Regions from separate parts of the Homo sapiens genome. Here region 1 is linked to region 2. The links are contacts of gene promoters, found by promoter capture Hi-C in blood cells and fetal thymus (Javierre and others, 2016). All regions are on one chromosome and are shown on one strand. Each heading gives the region's core, a stretch centred on a gene start or on the middle of the fragment in contact. The rest is flanking DNA. Distances are from core to core; before and after follow the strand shown.

Evidence for each region. The method cuts DNA at HindIII sites, captures the fragments that hold promoters and counts their contacts. A CHiCAGO score of 5 or more calls a contact.
Region 1: a contact is called between a fragment that was not itself captured here and the fragment with the promoter of SMARCAD1 in region 2, in 2 of 17 cell types (total B cells and naive CD4 T cells). The highest score is 7.1, in total B cells.

What each region holds. Positions count from the first base shown.
Region 1 is chr4:105,469,966-105,474,846 of GRCh38, reverse strand. It overlaps PPA2 (inorganic pyrophosphatase 2), which reads left to right and starts at 785. Exons shown (of 12, transcript NM_176869.3): 1 at 785-953. The coding sequence starts at 797. RefSeq lists a silencer at 595-804 and enhancers at 1,025-1,144, 1,435-1,604. The HindIII fragment of the contact is 1,188 bases long and covers 1,501-2,688 here.
Region 2 is chr4:94,205,285-94,209,922 of GRCh38, reverse strand. It overlaps SMARCAD1 (SNF2 related chromatin remodeling ATPase with DExD box 1), which reads right to left and starts at 2,058. Exons shown (of 24, transcript NM_020159.5): 1 at 1,853-2,058; 2 at 1,339-1,577. The coding sequence starts at 1,528. It overlaps SMARCAD1-DT (SMARCAD1 divergent transcript), which reads left to right and starts at 2,367. Exons shown (of 9, transcript NR_125922.1): 1 at 2,367-2,393. RefSeq lists enhancers at 1,478-1,981, 2,080-2,439. The HindIII fragment of the contact is 2,630 bases long and covers 1-2,617 here.

The DNA.
Region 1 (4,881 bases), core at 845-3,344, about 11 Mb before region 2:
ATGGAGGTCGGGAGTTCGAGACCAGTCTGACCAACATGGGGAAACTGTCTCTACTAAAAATACAAAAATTAGCTAGGCGTCGTGACGCATGCCTGTAATCCCAGTTACTCAGGAGGCTAAGGCAGGAGAATAGCTTGAACCCAGGAGGCGGAGGTTGCAGTGAGCCGAGATTGTACCATTGCATTCCAGCCCAGGCAACAGTGTGAGACTCCGTCTCAAAAACAAAACAACAACAAAAAATAATAAAATAAAAGAAAGAATAAATAATCTCTACTGGGTTAGGAAATGGCCTTATGGAGAAGATGGCATTTGAGTAAGCTACTTAGGGTTTTTTGCTCTGTAAGTCGGTGTCAACGTCCCGTTTTCACGTGGTGGCCTGATCATTTTGTCTTATAGTGATGTCTTTGCGTGCATGTGCGCTCATCTCCTATATTGGACAGGGTCTAGAGCAGTTCCTGGCACAGAGTAATCACTCAATATTACATCACTATACTAAAAAATCATGATAGTAATTCTTGACGGGATAAATGAAGGCATGAATAAATGTATGAATTAACGAGTGGCAGTGAGCTCTTCAGGGGTGGTGGGTCTTGTCTCACTCGTCTTTGAGCTGCGGCCTCGCTGAGGGCATAGTGCGCACAACTGGCTGGTGTTCCAGATTCCACTGGCAGGGACCAGGATCGCAGCCCGAGCGCCGGGGCGGGAGGGATGACTCCGGACGGTAGGGGGCACCGGCGTGCGGCCCGGCCGAGCCCCCAGGTAGCTCCGCGCGCACAGCAGGACCGTCATTGACGCCATGAGCGCGCTGCTGCGGCTGCTGCGCACGGGTGCCCCAGCCGCTGCGTGCCTGCGGTTGGGGACCAGTGCAGGGACCGGGTCGCGCCGTGCTATGGCCCTGTACCACACTGAGGAGCGCGGCCAGCCCTGCTCGCAGAATTACCGCCTCTTCTTTAGTAAGTAGCTCCCGGAGGTTCGCCGAGCGGCGCACCGGAGAAACCTGGGTGGGGGATGGAATGGGGGACACTTGGGACGCCCCGCGCGGTCTCCCTTCTCTCTTTTTGGGGCCCTCAGCGGTAGCCGCGCGGTCCAGGCCACCTTACTTCCCGCGGGAGCGCGCACCGAGTCACGAGAACTGCCAGCGAGGAGGCGGCGGATCAAGACCCCAAAGCGGAGAGCAGAGGCGCAGGGCTGCCGGCTGGGGGGTAGATAGCGCCCTGTGCCCTGCCAGCCGCCCTCCCCGAGGGGTAGGCAGAGTGCAAGCGGCCACCCCGCGGCGGCCTGCAGCCATTAGCCGGCCCGGCCGCCGTTCCCGGTTCACACAACTCAGTGAGGAAGGGAAGGCAGAGCCCGCCCACACGCCGGCCTTCCTAGAGGCGTAAGAAACCTCCTACTGCGGGAGCTCCCTGACGTCGGAGAGGCAGGCGGAACTTTGCGGATGCCTAATCCAGCGCGTCTTCTTTTTTTGGAGGGACTCTGATGAAGGTTCTTTCCCCAGAAGCTTGACTTGGTACGCACAAGTTTACACCCTGAGTGTGATCCACCATCCAAAGCCTCGTTGGTTCCGGAGCAGCCCCTTTTCCTCCCCAAGCTGAACAAGCCCAGAAGGCTAAGCGACTTCGGGGGGGTCCCTGAGTTGCCGAGCTCAGAGAAAGGACCCAGGTCTTCGTGACTCATTGTTCCGTGTACCCCATTGTTTCACTGTGTACGTTAACCGTAACAGAAAATAGCGATGTCGGTCGCTTGCCTTCACTCCCCACTGACTGCAGAGCCTTGGAGTGGTAGTATCAAAGTGGGCCTTGCATTATCGCTCCCCTTTTCGGAGCACTGGCTCTGGAGGCTTTCAGTTCTAAGCAGGCCCTCGAGTTCTTCACGTCTTAACTCTGTGACCCCGGACGAGTTTAAGTTGCTAAGCCTTGTTTTTTCTCATCCGTAAAATAGGGCTGCAAGTATTACATGACATTATATATGTAAACTGATTAGTCACAGGGCCTAAAATATAAATTACTATTGTTAATACCGATAATCATTATAGATATTTGTAATTTATGAGAGATTTGCAGTTATGCTACATGAGTTTAGGGTCGAGGATTATTTTGTGGGAAAGAAGAGTTTGCCTAAAGTCGTGTGATTATAATGCAACTAGTACTAGAATTTCTATTTTCTTCAAAATTGGTTGCAGTTTTCACCCTATGCCACATATTTTCTTCTATCTTTGGTTAAGACTGATCAGGTGAACAGGAAGTCTCAAATTTCTGAATGGATTATGTTCTAAAAGGTTACCATGTGATGATTAATGGGAATAGTCAGAAAAAATTATGAAGTGGCAGTTCGCTTTTTAAGCAGATTGAAAAAAGGCCTGTCTACTGCAAGTATTCTAGATTTGCAATAAGTACGGTAATTAATAGATACCCAAATAATAAATATTTATGAAGTGTGCTAGACACTGTTAGGCATAGTACAGAGATTCACAATATTACTATAATTATGGAAAAAGTAAATACACTGGTTGAGCAAAAACAGGCTTGAGAAGCCAGGAGCGCACAGAGTAGTTGACCCAGTACCGGATTTGGAATGGGGAGTCCTAGGCCATAATCTTGGCTCTGCCGTTAACTCGCTGTGTGCTGTTGGGTGGGTGGTTACTTCAGTTCTTTCTCACAGAGCCAGTTTCTTCAGCTGTAAAATGAAGCTTTTGACCTTGAAACGATGATCCTCAAGGTCCTTCTCAGCACTGGTATTCCCTGAAGGCATTGGATGAATAACGGAGATTCTAACAGTCTCTGTTAAGACAGGATGTCGAATGGGGGCATTTTTGGGAGTATGTTGGCCTCTTATTGTTGGTTTGTTTCTTTAGCTGCAAATGTACTTAGGACTCATGATTTTTCTGTAACTAGAGTGCCACAAATAAAATACGTTTTTCATTCAGTTGGATAAACAGGGCAGGAAAGAAGAAAACCCGATTTTACTAAGGTAAATGGGCAAAAACTGGAAGAAAGGGGAGTGTGGTTTTGGAGAGGGTCCCGATGGTAAGATCCTGATTGGAAGGTGTGTTGGTTAAACAATTTCTGAACTAACCGCCAGATGGCATCACTGGCCAGGACTGTTTACTACCTGCTAGAAGGGGTAGGGCAAAGTGAAACGAAGCCACTCTAGGGCGAATGGGGTAAGGGGAAAGCAACGAATAAATTGCCCTTTATAAAGATGATCACAGATTGGATATTTATTACTCAGTGTGTCTGTATGCAGTACTAGGGTGGACTAATGTCTCACTTCAAAAAAAATATGAGTGTAGTATACTTGGCCTAAAATTGTTACTCAGTGTTACTAAAGTGTAATCATTTTCCACATCTCCAAATATATTCCAAGTCTCTGAAATACTAGTGCATTGGGAGGTAGAACATTTTCGAGCTTCATGTCTGTAAATGGTTTCTCTTTACTGTCATTCAGTAAAATCAGAATAAATGATTGATGTAATACTTAAAAAAAAATTGGTGTTAAACTTTGTAGAAAGAGTGAGACAGGATGATTAGGGGAAAGGGTATCCTGATGGGAATCATCAGGCCTCCTTGGTGCCAGCCCTGACCCTGTTAGTATCTTGCTGTCACTTCACCTCCCTGCATCTCATTTTTTAAAACCATGGAATGAGGAGATTGGACCAGATGATCATTTTCCAGACTGCTTAGTTGAACACAAGCATCCCATGGTATATTATTAGGTTTTCGTTAAAACAGAGGGTTTCATGGTTTAATAAATTAGAACACTTCCCATTTTATTACTTTTTTGAAGAAGAATTTGCCTATTTAAGTTCTGGAAAATTCGGATGTAACTTCTCCAAAAACTGAACCACAGAGTACTTATTTCTCAGAACATTTGTTAACATCTTAGTGACATCAGGGTTATGATTTCTGCAACTTCCAGAAGCAACTGTGCTGTAACAGTTCTAAACTAATAGTCAAACCACTTAAGTTGTAGTCCTGACTTTACCGTCTTGGACAAGTCACTCGACTGAATTAACCAGAGGCATCCCTTACCTTCAGATGACATCCGGTAGCTCAGTTTCTCCGTAAATAAAATGGGGATAGCACTAGTAATTTTATAGAATTGCTGTGGCAGTTAAATGAGACTATGTGTGTAATTATCAGTGTCTCACACGTGATAGGTATTTAATAAATGTTATTTATTTTTCCCTTTTGACTTTAAGACATTAGACTAAAATCCTTATTATTAGATTCTGTGAAGGGAGAAAATAAGGTGATGTGATTGATTATTTTGAAGTGTTCCTGTTAATTTATAGGTTTCAGAAGGTTTTTTGTTGTTGTTGTTTATTCATTTTATTTTTATTTTTTTGGTTTGTTTGTTTGTTTAGAGATGGGGTCTCATACTTTTGCCCAAGCTGGAGCACAGTGTGCAATCACGACTCACAGCAGCCTTGACTTCCCCAGCTCAAGCGATCCTCTCACCTCTGTCTCCTGGGTAGCTGGGACTACAGGCATGCACCACTGTGCCCGGCTTCCTAGGTCTTAAAGTTTTAATGGGTACTTGCAGTCTTTTAAATTAACTGTGAAATCATAATGAAGTTAGACTCACTTATATTGAGCCAAAGACCTAATGCTGCATGCCAGTATTCCTTTGATATCTTGCGTGTTTTTGTTTGTTTTGTTTCGTTAATAACTTGAAATTTTATTTTAGATTTCATACTGTTCTCATAGGATAGGGAAAAGCTATGCTTTCCATAATTAGGAATTTTGTTATTATGGGATAGGCAACTGGTTTACTTAGAGAAATAGTGCTGTGGATAATTCAAGTTGCTTTTATTTAGTCTGGGAATGAACCAAGCAGTTCTTTAAAATTAATTTGCTTTGTCACTTATAGTAAGCATGTGCT
Region 2 (4,638 bases), core at 809-3,308:
AATCCCATGTCTACACCTTGGCTTTCCTGAACTATCTAACTACAGAGGAAACAGACAAATATATTCATTGGAAAAGCATTAAAATACCTGGATGTCAAATATCTATTCAAAGAGTGAACACAGGGATTAAAATCCTGGTGCTTAAAATCCTTCAGTTGTTCCCTATAGCATTTAAATTCAAAACTACTTAGACAAAGCCTTTGTAAATCTGACTCCTAATCCAATCTACCAAATCATTCTGCCAATTTCCAATTACACCAAAGTATTTAAAAATGTTATTCTAATGATAACTTGCAGAGGATCTGCCATCATTATTACATTTAAGTAGAAGGGTGGCAAACAAAAAGATACCAAGGATAAACATGTGTGTTACCAATCTTTCAGGCTACATTAAGTTAAAAGCTGTTTACGAAACAGAGTTTTGCATAAAAAAAGATATTACTGAAATAAATATTAAAATATAACTTCCAACATTCCTTTCACCTTTCCTAAGAAACTAACTAATTAGTTTATGCTCAGGAATCATACTGCCAGGACTTGAGTTCAGGCTCTACCAAGTTCCTAATAACCTCTCTGAATCTCATTTCACATTAACCTCTATGTCAGTAATATCTACCTTGTAGGATTATTGTGCAAATTAAATGACAGAAGGTGAAGCACTTATCACTATTCCTATAATACAACAAGAGCTCAAATATATTCCTCTAATAGTTAACTGTTCAATGAACATAGATTCGAGTGGAAATCTTAATTTTTGGCTTATCCTCAAATACTTTTGTCTCTGACAATCTGCTGATGAGGTTAAAAATGTTCATTCACCATGAAGAATACCAATTACTCATTTGCATTCTGAGGACATCCAGGAAGTCAGGTGGATGCAAGAACTTGATGTGATCTGATCTTCCCTTGTGTACAGAGGTTGTCTTTAGGCACCTTGCTCAATGTCTAGCTCACAGTAGATGATCAATATTTTGAGGGAATACTGGAATGAATGAAAATGTCTGCCCAAATAGCCTCAAAGTTTATCATAGGACTGAATCACTGACATCGCTCTTCCAATAGCAACCGTTCTGACCTATGGATGCCCTAAATTCTAATTTCAACTTCCACCATGGGGCCATATTCGAAGAACTCATATAAAAGTGAGGCGACAATGGATGGATGCTCAGTTGAGGGTACATGGTGCTTATGGCAGTCCCAAAGCTGTATTTAAAAGGGCACACCGCAGGACAATGCATCAATATATATGACATCAAGAATAAAAATGAGAATCCCTTCTGCCTTTCATCTTTTAAAAACTGTCCTTGATGTTACATCAATTTTAACATTGTAACTCACCTGTTTTTTCAGTTATATCTGAATCAGGAGTGTTTGCCCTGCTAACTTCCCCTTCAGCATTCTCCTCTTCAGCACTAAGAGAAATTGGTGAAGAAGGGCCAGGCTGGGAAGGTTGAGGGGTTGCTTCGGGCGCTTCCTCAATCTTATTCCTTTTCTCAAAGCGAAAACGGTCCAGGTTGAAAAGATTCATATTGGTAGAAAGCACCACCTTGCAGGGATGGGGGCTTTAAATGAACTATCTGCAGGGGAAAAATAAAGAGAGGAAAAAAGGCCATGAAAACAATATACGATACAATGCCACAGCAGTTTATTCCCAAGGCAATAAAGGGCCCGCAAACATGCCAGTGGCTCAGGACTGTTATGGCTGCGCTTCATTGTTAGGCCGCAACAATTAGAAGGTGGACGGGGGTATCTTTTAAAATTTTCCATTGCTTTTCACTCCCCTTCGTCCGCCTCCCCCGCCCGCCCCTCCTTACTGAAACCACGAGCTGACCCTCATGCAACCTCCTCTTACCCAAGCACGCGCAGGCACGTTCCCCAGTATAACCCCCTAGCGGGCCTCGCGCCCGCCCACAAAGAGAAGCTCCCTGTGCTACCGTGCCCCCTGCCTCGAGAAAGGACCTGCCAGGGCCCGCGCCTCGACACTGCGGGGACACAAAGGGGCCAAAGAAGGGGAGCGGCGGAGGCCGTGCTGGCGGGCATCCGCCCGGAAGTTGACGCGGCGCGATCCCAGCTGAGAGGAAGCTGATAGGATTAAGAACACACAGGAAGGTTCAGAGGTGGAGTGCATGCTAAGGCATCTTTTTAACGTTCAATCGCTCGCTTGTTCTTTCTTCCCTCAGTACTTACGATCTTGTAGCCTCAGTGCTATGTAACAAAGGTTGAAAATAAAAAAAAAATTTCCTAGCGTGGGGCGACGGTAGCCGTGCCGGGACCTTCCAAAACACCACGGAGAAACCTTAAGAGCGCGTAATGATGACGCAACACGCAGCCTAGGCTTTTTCTTCCCAAACAACGCGCGAGCCGACAATGTCGAGGCGCGCGCTGTTGTCATGGTAATTCGTACCCGTCTCCGCCGGCTTGTAAGGGCCAGATTGTTCTGTACCTTTGTCCTGTTAAATTATCTAGAGAGTTATTAAATAGAACAATAGTAAATAGCATAATGACAAAAAATAACAATATATAATACAATTAGTATATATTGTATGTATTATAATCTGTAGTGTTTCACCTATAATATAATGTAGATAGCATAATAGTAATAATACTGTGCTAAGCTTTTTCAGTGTATAATCCCAATCCTTACAAGAAGCCTATGTTTACAAAGCAAAGAAACTGAGACCTGCAAATGTATAGGTAATTAGTGACGGATAAGAACCCCGGGATGCTGAGCTTCAAAGCATTTAAAGTAATTCCTCACTTTCGGCTTGATTGTTCTTAGAATGGAATTTGATTAATTAATTAATTTTTTAAAAATATTTTAATTTTTAATGTTTGCGGGTACATAGTAGGTGTACATATTTATAGGGTACATGAGATATTTTGATACAGGCATGCAATGTGTAATAATCATATCAGGGTAAGTGGGGTATCCATAACAAGCATTTATCCTTTGTGTTTCAAACAATCCAGTTATTTTAGTCATTTAAAAATGTACAATAAGCTGGGAGTGGTGGCTCACGCCTGTAATCCCAGCACTTTGGGGGGCTGAGGCAGGTGAATCACAAGGTCAGGAGTTTGAGACCAGCCTAGCCAACATGGTGAAACTCCGTCTCTGCTAAATATACAAAAAATTAGCCGGGCGTAGTGGCGGGCGCCTGTAATCTCAGCTAATCGGGAGGCTGAGGCAGGAGAATAGCTTGAACCTGGGATGCGGAGGTTGCAGTTAGCCGAGATCACTCCACTGCACTCCACCCTGGGCAACAAAGCAAGACTCTTGTCTCAAAAAAAAAAGTACAATAAATTGTTGTTGACTGTAGTCATGCTATTGTGCTATCAAATACTAGATCTTATTCATTCAAACTGTATTTTCGTACCCATTAACCATGCTCACCGACCACCGGGGTCCTCCCCCGCCCCACACTACCCTTCCCAGCCTCTGGTAGCCATCGTTCTACCGTTTCTCATACGTTCAATTGTTTTAATTTTTTAGCTCCCACAAATATAATAAATGAGAACATACCAAGTTTTTTTTCTGTGCCTGCCTTATTTCCTTTAATATAATGACCTCCAGTTCCATCCATGTTGCAAATGACAGGATCTCATTTTTTTTAATGGCGAAATAATACTCCACTGTGTATATGCACCACATTTTTCTTATTCATTCACCTGTTAATGGACACTTAAGTTGCTTCCAAATCTTGGCTGTTGTGAATAGTGCTGCAACAAACATGAGAATGCAGATATCATTTCGATACACTGATTTCCTTTCTTTTGCATATAATTCACCTATCTTGATGGAAATGTTAGCTTAAGAATATATACTCCTGGCCGGGCGCAGTGGCTCACGCCTGTAATCCCAGCACTTTGGGAGGTGGAGGCGGGCGGATCATGAGGTCAGGAGATCGAGACCATCCTGGCCAACACGGTGAAACCCCGTCTCAACTAAAAATACAAAAAATTAGCCGGGCGTGGTGGCGGGCGCCTGTAGTCCTACCTACTCGGGAGGCTGAGGCAGGAGAATGGCATGAACCAGGGAGGCGGAGCTTGCAGTGAGCCGAGATCACGCCATTGCACTCCAGCCTGGGCAACTCCATCTCAAAAAAACAAAGAATATATACTCCTGGGCTAGGAGCAGTGGCTCACGTCTGTTATCCCAGCACTTTGGGAGGCCAAGGCAGAGCTGGGGCAACATAGTGAGACCCCATCTCTAAAAAAAATACAAAGTTATCCAGGCATGATGGCACACGTCTGTAGTCCCAGCTACTTTGGGGGCTGAGGCAGGAGGATCACTTGAGCCTGGGAGGTCGAGGCTGCAGTGAGCCATGTTTGCACCACTGCACTCTGGCCTGGGTGACAGAGCAAGACCCTGTCTCAAAAAAACAAAAAACTAAGATATACTCCCTTTGTTCCAACATTAGACAAGCAATTTTCTGAGTTATAATTTGAGCTTCTGGTTGGCATTTCCCATAAAGAGGAATTGCTACAAATGATCATTCTGCCAGATATATTAGCCATTGTAAACTTAAATTGCCAGTTTGTTTTATAAGTCAGTGTTGTGAATTGTATATTTACAACACATACCCACAGTTTTATCAAATGTGGGCACATTTATAAAATCAGGTGTCTGGGCCAATAAAA